Regions from separate parts of the Homo sapiens genome. Here regions 1 and 3 are each linked to region 2. Evidence: promoter capture Hi-C in 16 types of primary human blood cells and fetal thymus (Javierre and others, 2016). All regions are on one chromosome and are shown on one strand. The core of a region is centred on a gene start or on the middle of the fragment in contact, and the rest is flanking DNA. Distances in the headings are between cores, read along the strand shown. Region 1 has its middle 28 kb from the start of WSCD2. Region 2 holds the start of FICD (FIC domain protein adenylyltransferase). Region 3 overlaps WSCD2 (WSC domain containing 2).

Evidence for each region. The method cuts DNA at HindIII sites, captures the fragments that hold promoters and counts their contacts. A CHiCAGO score of 5 or more calls a contact.
Region 1: a fragment that was not itself captured here is called in contact with the fragment with the promoter of FICD in region 2 in 4 of 17 cell types (M2 macrophages, M0 macrophages, M1 macrophages and 1 more); the score reaches 8.3 in M2 macrophages.
Region 3: a fragment that was not itself captured here is called in contact with the fragment with the promoter of FICD in region 2 in 2 of 17 cell types (M2 macrophages and M0 macrophages); the score reaches 6.4 in M2 macrophages.

What each region holds. Positions count from the first base shown.
Region 1 is chr12:108,099,442-108,102,975 of GRCh38, reverse strand. No RefSeq gene overlaps it. Among named protein-coding and RNA genes, the nearest start is that of WSCD2, 28 kb to the left of the region's middle. The HindIII fragment of the contact is 782 bases long and covers 1,728-2,509 here.
Region 2 is chr12:108,512,763-108,516,833 of GRCh38, reverse strand. It overlaps FICD (FIC domain protein adenylyltransferase), which reads right to left and starts at 1,557. Exons shown (of 3, transcript NM_007076.3): 1 at 1,473-1,557. RefSeq lists enhancers at 1-123, 2,026-2,085 and a silencer at 3,582-3,767. The HindIII fragment of the contact is 9,938 bases long and covers 1-4,071 here.
Region 3 is chr12:108,229,539-108,233,450 of GRCh38, reverse strand. WSCD2 (WSC domain containing 2) reads right to left here. Exons shown (of 9, transcript NM_014653.4): 7 at 556-720. The region is part of intron 2 of LOC124903077 (a long non-coding RNA gene); the gene reads left to right. Among named protein-coding and RNA genes, the nearest start is that of WSCD2, 100 kb to the right of the region's middle. The HindIII fragment of the contact is 1,091 bases long and covers 2,086-3,176 here.

The sequences.
Region 1 (3,534 bases), core at 869-3,368, 410 kb after region 2:
TCCTTAGCAAAGTCTCTGGAATGGGGTAAATGCAGCCTTTATTGTTACTAGAGTTGTATTATTTTTATACCATTATCGTCACACATACACTGTATTGGTTAGCCATTGCTGCCTAATAAACCATCCCCAAACTCATTGCTTTAATTATTTTGCTCATTGTCTGTTGGTGAGCTGGTGATTTTTCTGGTCTCAGCTAAACTCACTTAAGTGTCTGAGTACAGCTGGAGGTCAGGTAGGTGGCTTCGTTGTCTTGGTGGGGTTTTCAGTATTTGAGGGTCAACTGGCCATAGGCTGATATAGAATGACCTTGTCTGAAATGACTGAGCTCCCCTCCACAAGCTCTTATCTGCTAGCAGATATCCTGGGGTTGTCCCCATAGTAGCTGGGCAAGATTTCAAAAGAGAAAGTAGAAGTGTTCTAGTCCTCTTGACTCCTGAGAACCCCTAGGAACTCTCTGAGTCACTTCCACTATACTCTATAGGCCAATACAAGTGATAAGGCCAGCTTAGATTCAAGGATTTTTCAGGAACCAGACTCCACTTTTCAATGAGAGGGCTGCAAAAGCACATTGGAAAAAGAGTAAATACAGAGAAGGGCAGCAAATTGCCACCATTTCTGCATCTACCACACATAATTCTGATGTCAGGAGACCTGGAATGCCCCACTCAGAATTTGTCTGATCAGAGTCCCCAGCCAGCAAACATCCAGAAAAGGCTGTGGTCCACTCCAAAGGCCTCCCCGAGCCTCTTTCTTGGCTGTATTTGTACATTTTGATTGGTTCCCCTACTTATCAGCCCAGCAGGAAGAACCTTCCTTGTCACCAGCCCCTGGAGAGTTATTAAAATCCTGCACTATCATCCAGACCTTAATAGGAGATTCCTGAAGGCAGAAACCTGACTTGCCCTAATTTTCCATAATTAACTCATCAAGGCACATGGCATGGCTGCTGCTGTCCTCGGGGGCTCTCTGGCTTTTCCCAGACTGCCCAGTAAGTCCCTGCTCACCACATCGCATGGGGGAAGGGAAGCTACTGTTTATGGAAGACCTATTATGAGGCCAGCTGGGTGGGCTCTTTCTAGGTGTGAACTCATTGCTTTTCTCAACTGCTGAGCCAGGTGGATATTATGATTTCCATGTTATGATGAACTGGCTGAGGCCCAGAGAGGTGAAGTCCCTTGCCTAAGAACACACAGCTGGGAAATTCCTGAACCTAGGTTAGTGGTTATTTGGTTACTTACGGGGCCATACCTGGACAGGTTCCAAAGAAACTGAAGGTGCAAGTCAATACAGTCTCCTTTCTCTGAAAAATAAAAAAAAGAAACAAAAAACAAACAAAAAAAAACTGGCCCCCTGAGGTGATGTGATTCAATCACAAGTGTCTCCCCTAGCGGCTATCACAGTGCTTGGAGCCCCTGCGCTAATCACTCCCTTCACTGGGTATTTCTTTTTCCATCACTGTCACCAAAAATTAGCACCAGGCAAGGAGACCCTGTTAAAATACAAATAGTGTGGAGCTCCAATTAGTTAAAACACAGTTTCCTGAGCTTCCCCTCAGACCTTTTAAAACAGACTCTTTAGGAATGAGGCCCTGGAGTCTGTATTTTAATGTTCTCCTCCATAGGTAATTCTGATGTAAAAGCCAGTGACAACATCCTGCATGGAAAGACACCCACACAGTGTTGCTGTTGTTGTTGATATTAAGTGAATAAAGCAACTTGTCTAAAGCTTGACCCCATATTTGACAAAGAGATCTCAAATAGGCAAAGAAAAAGTCTGTATGAAAAAGAACATACTGACAGTGGAAAATTCCCACTCAGAGAGGGGTGATGGAGCTAGGTCATGATTATCTGTATGGCTTGAGCATTGTGCAAAGAGCACATATTCCCTTGTAATCAGAAAAAGCAGTAAGACTCTTTTAATGCAAATATCCTTGAAAGAGAGAGAGGGCATTGGCAGTTGGGAGGCAACACTGAAGAAAATCTCTGACTGTGGCAGCTAGCCGAGAGCAAAGCCTTACGGGAAAAGGCTTTGGTGTAGGCACCTAGGGGAGAAATGGGAGGAAGTATGAAAATCCCAGCAGGAAGAGGCACCAAAGTCCAGGTCCAGCTGTTTCTATATCCTGTAATCTTAACCTCCATGCTGAACCATTGTGGTAGATTGCAGTGGTGGCCCCAATTCTTCATCTGTCCCTGTGCCTATGTCCTTGCCCATGTGACTGTAATGCTCCTCCTCTCTCAAGTTGGCTCCACCAAGTGACTTGCTTTGGCCAATGAGATTTTAGCAAGCATGACCCAAGATGAGGCTTAAAAAGTGGGTGCCTATACCTCTCCCATGAGACCACACCAGGCTGCCTGTTGGAGGATGAGATACATGTGGAGGAGACTCCAGTCATCACTGTTGACAATGTTTCTTTATCCACCACTGTCACCCAAAATTAGCACCGAGAAGTCCCAGTGTAAAATAGAAATAGCATGGATCTGCAATTAGTTAAAACACAGTTTCCTAAGCTTACCCTCAGACCTTTTAAAATGGACTCTTTAGGAATGAGGCCCTGGAATCTGTATTTTAATATTCTTCATGGGTAATTCTGATGCATAAGCCACTGACAACATAATGCATGGAAGGACAGGCTGATAGCCGACTGCCCCCAGACATGTGAGTGCACCCAGTCAAGATCAGCATAGCTGCTTTGCTGACCACCCAGTAGTCACAAATGATCAATGATCAATAAGTGTTTATTGTTTAATGTCACTGAGGTTGTTTGTTATGCAGCATTTCATAGCAGTAAATAATTGATAAAAGTTTGGACCTGTTCACGCTGACTGCACAGAAGAGGAGCCCTTAATGCTGACCTATGTTTGGTGGAGTCTGATTCTGGCAAAAGGGATGTTCTGGGCAGGACTTGCTGGTGGAGCTGACTCATGGGTGTCACCCCTCAGTCATTATTCTGATTTATTTGGTATCTCCATTGCTCATGAGCTCTCAAGCATGAGTATACTTTTTCCTATCACAGAGTAAATAATGGAGCCCTGTCAATTCCACAGTTCATCAGTCACATGCACATTAGACTCGACTCTGCTGACAAGCGCTTCTGCTCACTCTCCCAAATGAGCAGACACAAGACAGTGACATTCTTTTTTCCCCTTCTCCTAGGTGTTTACATTATAGATCACAAGTACCTCCTTGCCTGGCACTGTCATTTTAACTAACTCCATCAACAACACACATTCAGGTAACTCCAGAACCATGTACCCACACTCAAAGCCTGTAAATAATAGAAATGCTGTATTGAAATTACCAGGATTTCTACTATGTGCTTATATACATTAGGCTATCTAATCCTCACGTGACAGTGCAGTAATACCATTATAGCAACATTTTAAAAGGAACAAAAGATGGTTCTTAAAAAAACTGTAATGCAGGTGAAAGATAAAATCCATGCTATATTAGTATAATGTCCATATGATGTCAAAGAGTTCTCACAAACAGACCAGAAAAATGACAAATGGCCCCACAGAAAATGGGCAAAGAATA
Region 2 (4,071 bases), core at 308-2,807:
CTTCTGCTCTTTTAGCTCACTAGAGAGATGGGGTGGGGGCAAGTCAAGGACTGGATCTCACTAGAGGAGGGGCCAGCCTAGAAGGACTGGTGCCACCTCCTGGGCAGTATGAATGTGAAAACACTGCTGTGGTCCAACAATTAATGAGCACTTGCCATAATCCAGGCCGTGTGCTAAGCACCAAATGCCTCACATGGGTCACCTCCTGCAATCTTCAACGACTTGAGCTGATGTTTTCACCCTTCTCCAGGTGAGGGAACTGAGGTTCAGAGAGGTGAAGTCCCTTGCCGAAAGTCTCGCCGGGAGCAAGTGACAGCCTTAGGACTTGAACTCAGGAACCCCACGGCTCTAAAGTGTCCCCCCTTCCCATATATCCCTGTGGCTTCTGACCACAAACACTGGATTTGTGGACATATGTCAAACATTTGGGACATAAATGACTGACAGACACCCAGGCAGATCAGCCACAGCAGTTCTGACGCCCAATCTTTGATAAGCACAATTGTTGGGTGGCCTCATTTATTGCCCTCACCCTGATATTCAGCCACAGCTCCCACAGTGCCCTTCCCCTCTCTGGCCTTCCATTTCTGGCCTGTCCAGAAGGGACCCCATCAAGAAGATGAGCAGTTCGAGCATCTCGAAAGGAACTCAGGCTGTGGGCCACAGTGCTTGGCCTCAGTGACAACATGGCTTGTATGTGCTTGGGGCTGGCAGTGGGAGTGGAGGTGGGGCCAGGCATGCAAACACTATGCTAACAATAAGCACTTATTAAGCAACTATGGTGTCCTAGGTGCTGAGCAGTGTACTGGCCACGCATTGCCTCGTTTCACCCTCATGCCACCCTATGAAGGAAGAGCTACCGCTAGCTCCATTTTACAGACAAGGGAAACCAAGACACAGAGAGCATAAGTTAAATTCCAGAAGGCCCACAGGAGGTAAACAGAGGCATCCGGAAGGAAACCCCAGGGCCTCTGAACCCGGTCCCCAGGTCTCGATTTCTACCTTATTACTAAGCAGGGCCTGTGCACCTGCTCTGGGCTGGTCCTGACCCGGGAATGACTGATGGATCACGGGGTTCTGAGTCTCATGGGGATCCTGGCCCATTGCCACAGAACATGTGAAATGGCTTGGGGTGCGCTTTAATAGGGGTGCGCCTGGAGTGCTGCGCGGGTCCAGGGGTCTGGGCGGGCTTCCCGAGGGGACAGGCTCCTGGGCGGGGCGGTACAGGAAAGGGGGCAGTTCGCCGGTGCCAGGGGTGTGTGCAGGGAAGGAGTGCGTTCTGGGAGGCGCGAATCTCTCCCCCACACTTCCCTAGAAAGGGAGAACTGAGGCCCGGAGAGGGGAGGGGACCGGTCTGAGTCCCCTCCAAGACTGCAGAGCCTCCCTTCCCGAACCCCGCCCAGGGCTCGCGGCCCCGTCGCACCCTTCCCGGCTTCATCCTCTCGAGCCCCTAGGGCTTTTCCCCTTCTCACCGCGCGCAGCTGTCAGAACCCCAACCGCCTTCCCCGCGCTCCCAGCTCCGGGCCGCCGGCTCCCGGGTCCTCCTTCTCCGCCGGCCTCTGGCCCCGCCCCCGGCGACTTGCCATTGAACCGCCCGCAGCCCTCGTCGCGGCGGATTGGCTTTCCCCACTTGTCCTTCCCTCGCATTTCCGGGTTCCCGCGTCCGCGTCGGCTTCCCCGGGAAAGACGCGCCGTGGGCCACTCCCATTGGTTGTTGCTTGCGTTTGTCTCGTTCACGTAGCAGCCAATAAGCAGCGGGAGGGGCGGGGCCTAGGCCACAGGCAGGAGGAGCAGGTGCTGGAAACCCGATGGGCGTGCGGATTTGGGGCACACTAGGTGGCGGGCCCGGAAACTGGAAGTTCCACGGCGGTCTTTTCCTCGGGTCTCTTCGTCCCGGAGCCGCTGTCGTGTGCCTCATTTTTCCCGGTTGTGAAATGAAGATGCTGATGCTTTTCACCCCTTCACCCGGTTAGCCTGCTTGACTGCGCAGCCCCTGTTCTTAGCCTCCACCCCATGCTGCTGAGTTTGCCGCCTTCTTCTTCTTTACTCTTTTCCTCTCTGTGTCTTTTCCTCCCTGACTTAAACAACTTTTTTTTTTCTTATAAAATACAGGGTCTCGTTGTGTCGCCCAGGCTGGAGTGCGGTGGAGCAATTGCAGCTCACTGCAGCCTCCACCTCCTGGGCTCAAGCAATCCTCCCATCTCAGCCTCCCGAGTAGCTGGGACTACAGGTGCATGCCACCATGCCCGGCGAATTTTCTTTTCTTTTCTTTTCTTTCTTTCTTTCTTTTTTTTTCTCTCTCTCTGTCTTGCTTTCTTTCTTTTTTTTTGAGACGGAATCGCACTCTGTTGCCCAGGCTGGAGGGAAGTGGCACGATCTTGGCCCACTGCAACCTCCGCCTCCCAGGTTGAAGCGATTCTCCTGCCTCAGCCTCCCGAGTAGCTGGGATTACAGGCGCGCATCACCACGCCCGCCTAATTTGTGTATTTTTAGTAGAGATGGGGTTTCACCACGTTGGCCAGGCTGGTCTCGAACTCCTGACCTCAGAAGATTCGCCTGCCTCGGCCTCCCAAAGTGCTGGGATTACAGGCGTGAGCCATCGCGCCCGACCTATTTCTGATTTTTTATTTTCTTTAGAGACCGGGTCTCACTATGTCGCCCGGGCTGGTCTCGAACTCTTGACCTTAAGCTCTCCCTCCATCTCGGCTTCCCAAAGCGCTAAGATTACAGGCGCAAGCCACCCCCTCGGTTCTCCCTGACTTTTTAATTTGTATCCTCTCCAGAAGGACCTGGCTAGTTCTTTTGGCTTCCCAGAGAGAAATTTTTTCCTTGAAGCAGAGAATGGAAACCTCCATCTTAATCCACAAATACTGAAATTAAACATCTAGGGAGGTGCCCCAGAAACGCTAAGCATTTAGAAGTTAGCAGTTCAGATTCTGGGGAGTCAAAGAGACCTGAGCTCAAATTCAGACTTTGCCATTTACTCTCCGTGTCACCTTGGGCACGTTACTCCTAGCCTCACTTTCCCCACTTGTAAAATGGGGACAAACAGCCTACCTTGCTTTTGGCATCCAGTTCAGGATTTGCAGAAGGCTTGATGCTTCAAGATCTGACCTCCTCTGTGACGTGTATTGCTCTTGGAGGCAGGGCTAGGTGGTGGTTGTGGGGTGTCACTGTTGGGAGTCACACAGACCTGGGTTCAAATCCCAGTTCTGCCCCTTGCAAACTGAATCACATTCAGCAAGTGACTTGATCTTGTTGATCATCTGTCTAGGCTTTTCTGTAAACTGTGCACAGTGTGATGATATTACCACTTCACAAGGTTTTATGTGAGGGTGAAATGAGATTCTATACATCTGGCACAGAGCAAACTATCTATCTATCTATCTATCTATCTATCTATCTATCTATCTATCACCTATCTATCTTTTTTGAAATAGGATCTCACTCTGTTGCCCAGGCTGGAGTGCAGTGGCATGATCTTGGCTCACTGCAACCTCCATGTCCTGGGTTTAAGTGATCCTCCCATCTCAGCTTCCCTAGTAGCTGGGACTACAGGCACACACAGGCTAATTGTTTTTTTGTTTGTTTGTTTGTTTTTGAGACAGAGTCTTGCTCTGTCACCCAGGCTGGAGTGCAGTGGTGTGATCTTGGCTCACTGCAATCTCTACCTTCTGGGTTCAAGCGATTCTCCTGCGTCAGCCTCCTGAGTAGCTGGGATTACAGGCATGTGCCACTGCACCCGGCTAATTTTTTTGTATTTTTAATAGACACGGGGTTTCATTCTGTTGGCCAGGCTGGTCTTCAACTCCTGACCTCAAGTGGTCCACCTGCCTTGGCCTCCCAAAGTGCTGGGATTACAGGCTTGAGCCACCGCGCCTGGCCAGAAGATCCATAGTTTTTAAGGAACAAAATCAGGGTGGTGATTATTTTGGTGGCTTCTCGTTTTTAATCTTTTCAACCAAGGTCATAAACATTTTTCTCTTGGAGTCCTCTGAATTGCACTTCCTGATGGCCCAAGTAGTAATGTCATTGTAAAAACCTTCCCCAGAGGAGGGCCTGGTAGGCAGC
Region 3 (3,912 bases), core at 1,382-3,881, 280 kb after region 2:
AAATGCATGTTGGGACACCTAACTTAGGAAGTGCATCCAGAACATTCCGGTGCTCAGTAAACATCTGTGAATGGAATGAAAATAGAGCACCCTGCATAGCGAATATTGTCGACTTAAATGTGGAGAGGACACCTGGTGAATAGTAGGTGCTCAATAAATGTCCCCAAAGTGAACTTAGTTCTTGTACCTCTATTACATCAAAGAGTTGCTGGTCAGTAAACATCTGTAATGAGGTACCAGCACACAGTAGGTGTGTAAGAAATGTTTGTTGTAACCTAAATGGAGGAAAGGTACCAGGCATAGGATAAGTACTTGACAAATGTCAATTATTGAATGGATGCTAGTGGAGTATCCAGGACATGACTTAAGAAATGTTTGTGGGGCATAAAGGAAGGTGGGGGGGTACCAAGCATGCAGTGAGTCTCAAAAAGTGTGCCTGGGAGAGCTGAGTGGCACACAGTAGATACTCAAGGAGGAGTATTCCCATACCCTCCAAGTGGGGACCTTCCCAAGCCCAGGGAACCTCTTGCCCTGCCCTCCCTGCCATCTCCTCACCTTTGTTGTAGAGGGAGCCATCGAAGTAGTAGCTGCCAGTGTAGAAGCCTGTGGCCAATTCAATGAGGTGGCGAGCCCACGTGTTGCCAGCACCTGGGAAGCTGGCCAAAGCAATGAGCTGCTTGGACTTGCCTGGCAGGAACCTTCTGTCCATGCAACGGTTGTCTGAAAAGGGCGGAGCATGGACAGAGGTCAACACCAGGGGCAGATGGAGCCTGTCTGAAAGGGCCAGGGTATGAGTCACACCCCTGCCACTTCTCAGCCAGGTGATCAAGGGCACAGGACACTTGCGTGGGTCATGGGAAAGCTTCCTTGGGCCTCAGCTTTCCCATCTGTAAAATGAGGGAGATGGTTCCTCCCTCATAGAGTTGAGGTGAGTGTTAAATGGGATAATGATGGAAAGGGATAAGCACAGTGCTTAGCCCATAGTAGGGATCCAATAGAAGTCAGCTAGGAGGGTGAATCTTCTCTCCAGCCCCAGTTTCCCCCCAGCAGAGCAAGTCTTTCCCATTCACCCCTACCCTTTCCTCCAGATCGAAACCGTCAATGGCATCCGTCGTGTATTTTTTGTTATTCTTGTATTTTGCGGGCTCTGAAAAGCCAGAGAATCAGGAATATCCAAATGGTACTCACCACCTCCCAACCCATTTTACAGATGAGAAAACTGAGGGCTAGAGAAAAATAATATCTATGCCTTTTGAGTATAGGATGCAGTCCAGGGTTCTTATCTTGGCCTCCAAGCCCACATGGTTGGCCTTTGCAAACTCACAGGCTCATTCTAATCCACTCCACCACATGCCAGCCACCTGGTCTCTCTGTACTTCCTCTCCTGTGCTTTGCTGTGTCCTGACATAGTGCCTTCATGCATGCTGTTCCCTCTCCATTGCCTCCTACCTGCCTTTGCTTTTTGTTCTTCAGCTCTCAGTTGAATGGGTCCCACTGTCTATCCGTCTGTCCTTCCTTCCTTCCTTCTTCCTTCCCTCTTTCCTTCCTCCCTTCCTGTCTCTCCTCTTTTCCTGACTCCCTGGGCTATCATTAGTGCATTACTATATCCATCTCCTTCATATTGTTGATCACAATTGCAATTCAGATAATTATGCATGCAATTAGTCGTGTGGTCAGAAACCCTGCCCATATTGTGTTTTGCTGATTCACCAAAAGTTTCCACAATATCTGGTATACAGCAGGTACTTAATAACTGCTTCTTGGACGGATGCATGAATGGGTAGAATGGTGACTGGGTGGATAACAATAATATCTATTTTGTAGGGCTCTTGTAAGGATTGAATGAAACAAAGCATGTAATATGCTAATACTCTAAAGTGCTCAAAAGGCATAGATATTATTTTTCTCTAGCCCTCAGTTTCCTCATCTGTAAAATGGGTTGGGATGTGGTGAGTACCATTTGGATATTTTTGATTCTCTGGCTTTTCAGAGCCTGCAGAATGCCATTACCATCAGAGTTAACAGAAAATGCAAGCCCCAGCACCTCCCACTGCAACCCCAGAGGGAGCTAAGAAAGCACAAGCTTTTCTTTTGGTTCCCTCAGTTGCAAAGGCAGCTGAGGGAAGGCTCAGAGCAGGGGGCGCTGGAGCAGAAAGGAAGATGAGAGAATCCCAGATCCAGGCCTGGAGGCCCCAGGTCTCAGTGCTGCCTTCTTCAGCCTGGGGCAGATGAGCTCCACCCTTATTTATCATCCAAGGGAAGGCAGGCAAACCTCCCTCACCTCCCATGGCCCCTCACCTCCATCTCTCCCTCTTCTGGGGAAGCCACCCATCCCCTGCTCATGTATGTGTTCTCCATTCCCTCCTTCTCCAAGCTCTTTGCTCCTTCCAAACCCCAATATTTTTTCTCTCTCAGCTGGCTCAATCACATTAGCACTCAAACAGGAACAAATAGCTCCCTCGTTTAGAAAGAGCCCCTTCCAGCGACCACCAGCTCCCCTTCACCCCATCACCGCCACATTGCCAGCAGAGTTGTCCACATTCCTTCATGTTTCCTCCCTTCTATCTACTCCTTGGCTCTTGCACTTGGCCTCTTCCCTGGTCACTGCCCTGGACCGGTTATGGGCAAGGTCCTCAGTGACTGCCCCATGCTCAATTCAAGAGACAAGCTCACCTCACGTGATTACTCGGGCATGAGGGCAGAGCGCTGCCCTCCTCTAGGTAATTCCTTCCCAAGATTTTACCAGGGTCTTCCCTGTTCTGCATTAGCTGCTATTTATTGAAGTCTTACTGTGAGCCTCATTAATTTCACACAAAAGCCCTTTGAAGGAGAGGTGTGAAGTCCTAGATTTAAATTCCAATTCTTCCACTTACTTTTTGGGTGACATAGGAAAAAAATGATCTGTCGGAGCCTCAGTTTGCTCACTTATAAAATGGGACTATTAAGCAGCGATGACAGCCTGAGGTTGTTTAGGAGAATGAAATTCTTGAATGAATGCAGTGTTAGATTGAGACAAACATGCCGGAATTGCCCACAGAATCGATTGTGGTTCCTGGTATTGTTCCTGCTAGCTGGAGGTTCAGCTTTCTTCTCCTGCCTGTTTAATTTTTGTTCTGAGATGATCAGATTTAGGATAAAATAAACCAGGGGACATCTGTGTCGAAGCCAAGTAAGCTTCAGGGAATGGTTTTCATTGGAATACACTGCAAAAAGGAGCCCAGACACAGGGACTTTATAGAATATGGTTATGTTTTATATTTTGATAGGGGAGTGGATTAGCCAGTTGATATTAACTAGTACACTTAAAATATGTGCATTCCACTCTATGGAAGTGTTACTTCAGAAAGCTAATATTGAATTATATAACCAATGACAACATCCTGAAGTATAATGATGCTTGCAACTTGCTTGGAAATGCACCAAAAATTAGGAAGGATTGAGGGATGGAGAAAAGGAGAGATGGACAATAAAGTAAATACAGCAAAAGTTAATGTATGTCACAAAATTCTATGGAATGAGTATATATGTGTTCACTGCATAATTCTTCCGACTTTTCTGGAGGTTTGACTTTTTTTTTTTTTTTTTCCAGAGCAAAATGTTGGGTTGATAGGTCGGGTGGGGCAGACCAGGCTCCTTAATGTCCCCCCAAAACAGAATTCTCTATTCAAATATTTCCTGGGAGGCCAAGGCCAACCCGAAGGTAAAAGTTGTGGTTTTCAATGCTATAAAGAAAGTTGATTTGGTTCCTAAGCCCCATACATTAAGCAACTGTTGCAGGCAGTATTATATGCAGTTTTGGAATCAGACCGACCTGGGTTTCCATCCAGAACTGTCATGGCCTACCTGTGTGACATGGAACAAGGCTTTCCCCTCACTAAGCCTCAGTTTCCTCACCTATAAAACAGGGCTAAT